2 separate regions of the Homo sapiens genome follow, and region 1 is linked to region 2. Evidence: promoter capture Hi-C in 16 types of primary human blood cells and fetal thymus (Javierre and others, 2016). All regions are on one chromosome and are shown on one strand. The core of a region is centred on a gene start or on the middle of the fragment in contact, and the rest is flanking DNA. Distances in the headings are between cores, read along the strand shown.

Region 1 (3,390 bases), core at 224-2,723, 290 kb before region 2:
GAGTCATGCTGGAGAGGGATGTGAAAAGTGGGCACACAGAGAAGAGCTTCCCCCCTCCCATAAAGGGCCATGTGCCTATACTACTTCAAACATGAGAAAATAATTCTGTCTGGAATTGTTAATTGTGTCCATAATCTAAATAACATGAGGGTATCCTCACACATCGAAAACCCATTTTATTACACTGTATAATATTATATGAAGTCACTTCTAACAGCTCCGTATGAGTCACAGAAATAAAGCATAAGAAAAAGAAACATGCAAAGGAACACTTCATTTTAGCCATTAATTTATGTACATTCTCTGTTTTTCTTCTCCTTATCTTACTCATGAGTTTAAAACAACAAAACAGTCAGAGAGATTAGAAAGGAGTGAAAAACAAGGTGACTGCCTAATCTTGATAAATAAACTAGATAACTGGCCTCTGAATAACGAGAAATTGGTTATTAAGGCCTCCATTTTCAGACAGAACCCGTTTTTAGAAATGGATGTCTAAAACTGAATTACCCTGCAGAACAACTCTGATTGCATTTACAAGGTACCTGAACTATGCCTGAGCTGATACCTTTATCTGTTTAGACATGACTTGAGTCCTCAAATGAGTAAAATCTGCTGTGTAAATCAGGTACTTAATTAAAGAAAAAGCTTAGTAGGCTGCAGGGAGAGATTTGTTGAAATGGTGAATTAAACACTGTTATAGTAAGAGACCTCCTTCACTTATTAATTCTATCATTAGTCCACAAAATTCAAGTCAGACAAGAGTAGCTACTGTTTATGCATTTTTCATTTAAGATTCTAGAGTAGGGTAAATACTTACTGGGAATCTACAATCTCCAATGGGCTCACTGAGGCCTGGCAGATGAGGGGGAAAAGGCACTGAAAACAATACTATTCCCATATAATTTACAATCCTGTTAAATCTCCTAGTATGGTACATTCTCATATTAGTTCTGGTAATAGTAATCCTACCTCTCTGGTCAACCAATTCCTCAACACTCCTGAAAACCATTTCCTGCTTATCACGTACAGCAAAAGGCCTCACTGCCTCATTAACAATAATATTCACCTGTTCTTATGTTCCTTCCCTCTCGTTAAAGGAGAGTTCTCTCTCCTACAATGGGTCGAATGCAAATCTTTCTACTTGTGCTCAAAACCCCGTGTTCTCCCAACCTTCCCAGGAAACTTACACTGTCAGTTATCCCATTTTCCTTGCATACTTAAACTATCCCTCTCAAATAGAGCCTTCCATTTTTAAATACGCTCCAGAATCTCATCCATTAAACAGACACACACACACACCCAACTCATGAGACCTCAACCACTACATTCAGTCATCCCCATCATGGCTAAATTTCTGGAACTTTTCAGTCTTCATTTCCTCCCTTCCCACTTGTCCCTCAACCTGCTTCCAAATTCCATCTCCAGCTGTCAGTAAGGTCAACAGTGACTGACAGGTAAATGCAAAAGACTCTCCAATCATCAGCATACTTAATTCTGCCAGCAGAATCAGATACTCTCCTCCTTGGTTCCTGTGATACAACCTTCTCCTAGTTTTCCTCCTACTTCTCCGCTCACTTCTCTGTCTTATAATAACCCATCTTTCTCAATTCAACCACATTCTAAGCATATGACTCACAAATCTACAGCCCATGTCTTCCATCACACTCCAGACTGTAATGCTGCCCCTGGATATCACAAAGGTGTATCAAATTCATAATGTCCAAAATTAAACGCATGTTCTTCTTGTCCCCCAAACTTAGTTCTTTCTCCGTAAAAGACATCAGCACCCATCATCCTGCTATGCAAATCCTAAAGAACCTTAGGAATCATCTTTGACATGTCCCTCTCCCTCACCACCATATCCAATCCATCACCAAATTCTACTTTATCATCTAAATATCTTTCTATTCCATGTACTTCTCTACACTGCCATCATGCTAATCCAATTTACCTCTGTAAACTACCTAGGCTACTACAACGGGCCTAAGTATGAAACATGACCATCACCACCACAACCCCACCTCCATGCACGCAAGCACACACACACTTTTTCTTCATGTATTATGATGGTCACTTTATTTAATAACCTTTTAAATTCATTAAATTTAGGCAAAGCACAAATCGCTTGTTTACATGTATTCCTACCCTATCTCATTCCCACAAGTGTGAACTTTACCAGGACAGGATGTAAGTTTTAATCATCCTCATGGTCCCAACATAGAGCATGCAACATGTACTCAATAAAGGTTTACTGAATTTGTCTGAAATTCACCTTGTTTTGGAGAGTTAGAAAAAGCTTGTATACATGAGACTTTCAGATGACCTTTTCATTTATGTTCCTGCTTCCGTCCAACAGTTGAGTCAGTTAATAAAGCAAAATTAAAACTTTTAAAAATTATAACTTTGAATCTTCCAGATATTACATTAATGAAATACAATCCAAATTCTAATGACATTTCACAGTTAAAAAAAAAAAATTAAAAGCTGGCTGGGCACGGTGGCTCACACCTGTAATCCCAGCACTTTGGGAAGCCGAGGCAGGCAGATCACCTGAGGTCAGGAGTTCAAGACCAGCCTGTTCAAAATGGTGAAACCCTGTCTCTACTAAAAATACAAAAATTAGCTGAGTGTAGTGGCACATGCCTGTAATCCCAACTACTCAGGAGGCTGAGGCAGGAGAATCGCTTGAACCTGGGAGGCGGAGGTTGCAGTGGGCCAAGATCGGCCCATTGCACTTCAGCCTGGGTGACAAGAGTGAAACTCCATCTCAAAAAACAAACAAACAAACAAACAAACAAAATTAAATTAAAAGCCATCAGATATAGTATGATCATTTCTATGGAAAAACAACTAAAAGACTTTCAGAGAACGGCAATTGTTTTCAATATTCAGTTATAAAGACATTTCTTAAAACAAAAGTGGGCCAGGTGTGGTGGCTTACACCTGTAATCCCAGCAATCTGGGAAGCCACGGTGGGCCGATCATTTGAGCCTAGAAGTTTGAGCCCAGCCTGGGCAACATGGCAAAACCCTGTCTCTACAAATAAATACAAAAAATTAGCCAAGCATGGTAGTCCCAGCCATTGAGAGGCTGAGATGGGACAATCAACTCAGCCCACAAGGTCAAGGCTGCAGTAAGCTGTGATGGCAGCACTGCACTCCAGCCTGGGTGATGGAGTGAGACTCTGTCTCAAAAAAACAAACAAACAAACAAACAAAAAACATCTAAGTGAATAAATAGCAACTACCCCATCATACATAAATTACATTTTTCCCTGGAGGAGGAGTTCATTCTCAAACACTGTTTCTTTTAAATTCTGAAGCAATATCCTGTTCTTTTCAATCAGCACTTAGAAAATGTTTCTCAAACTTTATGAATACAAAATCCATC
Region 2 (3,660 bases), core at 205-2,704:
CTTTAGTGGCTGAGGGTCTCGGCCACCTTCCAAAGGGGCGGAATCCCCCTGCCTCGCGTACCCCAGGGGTCTCGGCAGCGCCGCTATTCTGTGAGCCTATTCCTCTCAGAAGCGCCGAGCACTAGGCCTGGAAGAGGACAAGTCTAGCAAATGAGGGGACACGGGCGGAGGGAGGGATTAAAAGATGGGGGTGTGATCCGTGCCAATGGGGACACCCACTGGTTCGAATATTAACGCGAGGTTTGTCCGCTTCTTCACAATCTGTCCGTTTCGTTTTACTGCGAAAGCAAATGTGTTCCCATCCCTCTATTTGGGGATACGATTAGAGTTCCGGGAAGGGGGTGCAGCGCCCGGACTGGCACAACCGCCGTTGTCCCACCTCCTCCGGGGCGGCAACACCGCAGTGCCAGGCCTGGGACTGAGGCGTGGGGTCCCCCCTCGCTCCGTCCTGGCGCCGCCCGTCGCCCCGCCCCTTGGGGGGCCCCGTGGCGCACCCTTGTGACGTAGCGCTTGTGTCGACATCGGCGCGCGCCGAGCCCGGAAGAGGCGCGGGCTAGGAAAGGAGTTGGTTCGCGCAGGTGCGGCGCCTGGGTCCCCATGGCGCTGTGGCGCGGCTCCGCGTACGCGGGCTTCCTGGCGCTGGCCGTGGGCTGCGTCTTCCTGCTGGAGCCAGAGCTGCCAGGCTCGGCGCTGCGCTCTCTCTGGAGCTCGCTGTGTCTGGGGCCCGCGCCTGCGCCCCCGGGACCCGTCTCCCCCGAGGGCCGGTTGGCGGCAGCCTGGGACGCGCTTATCGTGCGGCCAGTCCGGCGCTGGCGCCGCGTGGCAGTGGGGTGAGTGCCAACGGGGCCTGGGTCTCTGAGCCTCCGAGGTCGGCCTTGGAGGTCGGGCGGAGCCGCGCAGAAACAGGGCTTCTCAGAGGTCCCCGGGAGGCGCTGCTGTCCGCGCTGGCCCCTTGGCGAGAAGTGTCGGACGTCTGAGTGGAACCCGGTTCGTCACCGCTGCTCTTTCCACTCGGCTGGCCTCTGCGCCTTTCTCTCATCCCGGTAGGACCAGCCCTAACAGCTTCTTGCTAATCCCGCTTTGTCTGACACCTTTCTCCGAGCCTTCTTCCTCGTTCCAACTTTTAGCCCCTTCTCTTCTGGCGACTGTTGTTTTGCAATCAAAGATACTTGACCTTACCCACTATGACAACACTCTTCCTCTTTCTTCTGAACTTCTTGAAGACGCGTGATGTCTGCCTTTACCCACTTTCGAAACGCCGTGTAGTCTAGAAACCACACGACTGTACTGCAACTCCTCTCAGATTTGCCTTTTTGAATCTTCATTATCTACTCTGCAGCCTTCCACGCATTGAACACGCCCTTCTCCGTGAAATTCTTTTCTTCCCCTGACTTCAGTGACACTGCATATTTAAGGTTCTTCCAAATGACACTACCTCCTTTCTTTGTACTTTTCCTTGGGAATGTAATTATTTTCTTTATAGTATTGATACTGTAAACACTAACTTTAGTCCCTGTCTCAGTTCGATTTGACTTTCTTGCCGTAATCTCAGAGTTATGTATAACCACCACATAAAAGCAGGCCCTCTACCATGTAGCTCACTACTTTCTGTGGAGTGTTGGGGCCGGGAGGGGTAAAGTAGAGCAAACTTGGCCTGAAGATTAAATGACATCATTCATGTAATCTCTCTAGCATAGTGCCTGCTTTAAAAAGCATTCGATATTAGCTATAATTTTGGGGTTTTTTTTTTTTTTTTTTTTTGGACACAGGGTCTCTCTCTCTGTCGCCTAGGCTGGAGTGCAGTGGTGCAATCACTGCTCACTGCAGCCTCGAACTCCCGAGCTCAAGAGATCCTTCTGCCTCAGCCTCTGGAGTAGCTGGGACGACAGGCAAGCACCACCACGCCCAGCCAATTTTTTATTTATTTTATTTTTTTTAGTAGAGTCGAGGTCTTGCTATATTGCCCAGGCTGGTCTCGAACTCCTGAGCTCAAGCCAGCCTCCCATCTTGGCCTCCCAAAGTGCTGGGATTAAATTGTCCTTCCTTGCTTTATGCGCGTTCATTCAGCAGATATTCACCAACTACATGGTTAGTGTCAGGTCTGTGCTAGGTTCTTAAGATACAGAGATGGGTGAAGCAAGGCCCCTGTCTCACTTGTTGGAAACATATTATTGTATCAGTCATTTGGGCTGCTAGAACAGAATACCACAAATTAGGTGGATTAAACAACAAATCTGTTTTCTCGTGGATCTGGAGGCTGATAGTCCAAGATCAAGGTGTTGGCAGGATTGGCTTCCGATGTGGCCTCTCTTCCTAGCTTGCAGCCAGCTGGCTTTTCAGTTAGTCTGCGCATGTACACTCCTGGTGCCTCTTATTCTTCTTATGTGGACACTAGGTCCTTTTGGAATAGGGCTCACCCGTATGACCTTATTTAACCTTAACTACTTCCTTAAAGGCCCTACGTCCAAATATAGTCACATTGGGAATTAGGGTTTCAGCATATGAATTGGTGGGGGGTGGACAATTCAATCCATAACAATTATGGTTAGAAGAGGAACAACCCACGAGGACCAGGCAGAAGCCTTAATGCCTTTTACGACCTTACCTTAGAAGCACATAGGAACTCTTCTACCAGAGTCACAGGTCCACCTGGTTTTAAGGGAGGGGACATAGAACAAACCTTGATGGGAGGAGCATCAGTGTCACATTGTGAAAAGAACATTTGGAATGGGGCATCTTATTGCCACCATCTTGGAAAATATATTTTACTACAGTGACTTTCATAGGACAGACACTAAATAAATGAGATTTCTTCAAGCCAAAGTGGGAACAGGTCCACCTAGGCAAGAGAACCAAATGTGAAAAAGTACATGGTTTGTTTGGGAACAGGTCGGCCTTGTTTTGGAGCGAGAATCCTATGGTAGAGGGTTGTAAAGAGATGATGCTGAGAACGAAGGGTTGGACCAGATTGTGAAGGGCCTTTTATGGGGAAGCCATAAAGGTTTGTAAGTAGTTAACTGATGACAAGTTCTTTGTTGAGAATTGGTGGGAATGTGAAGGGTGGATTTTGAGCAGTGGTTCTAAACTGTTTCACTGCTTCTCATCATTTATTACCCAAAGAGGATTTTTAGCCCAAAGATAGGGGGATATAGGAGGGATGAGGGGGAGCAGGTGTAGTACTTGTATCAGAATCTCATTTTGAGGTTGTAGTTTGACTTCTCTAGAGACACACTCGTATTCACACTCTCTGTCACACAGACACACTCAAAATGCCATTTAATGTGATTCATAAGGAGGAATATCTTGACATCCTGACACTGGTTTAAGAGGCCATTGTAGGGTTTGTGTAAAGGGAGAAAGGAGCCCGAACCAAACTCGGCAATGATGTAGAAGAGGTGAGATTTGAGAGATAACCTGAATAATAGTTTGGATGTGGTGGAGTAAAGAAAGGCAGTCAAAAACGACAGGTTTTTAATATTGGATATCTTGTTTAGTTTTTGTTTTCTGTTTGAGACAGCATCTCACTCTGTCACCCAGGCTGGCGTGTGCAGTGGCATGTTCAAGCTCACTGTGGCCTTGACCTGTCATGCTCAGTGTCCCGAGTAGCTGGAACTACAGGCATGTACCACCACACCCGGCTAATTTTTATATTCTTGGTAG

What was found. The method cuts DNA at HindIII sites, captures the fragments that hold promoters and counts their contacts. A CHiCAGO score of 5 or more calls a contact.
Region 1: a fragment that was not itself captured here is called in contact with the fragment with the promoter of ADPGK-AS1 in region 2 in 12 of 17 cell types (naive CD4 T cells, naive CD8 T cells, total CD8 T cells and 9 more); the score reaches 16.8 in naive CD4 T cells.

The regions. Positions count from the first base shown.
Region 1 is chr15:73,071,347-73,074,736 of GRCh38, reverse strand. All of the region lies in intron 1 of NEO1 (neogenin 1), which reads right to left. Among named protein-coding and RNA genes, the nearest start is that of NEO1, 21 kb to the right of the region's middle. The HindIII fragment of the contact is 1,651 bases long and covers 648-2,298 here.
Region 2 is chr15:72,780,629-72,784,288 of GRCh38, reverse strand. It overlaps ADPGK-AS1 (ADPGK antisense RNA 1), which reads right to left and starts at 1,454. Exons shown (of 3, transcript NR_040107.1): 1 at 1-1,454. It overlaps ADPGK (ADP dependent glucokinase), which reads left to right and starts at 531. Exons shown (of 7, transcript NM_001365225.1): 1 at 531-830. The coding sequence starts at 598. RefSeq lists enhancers at 6-215, 266-325, 1,086-1,155 and a silencer at 376-835. The HindIII fragment of the contact is 5,666 bases long and covers 1-3,660 here.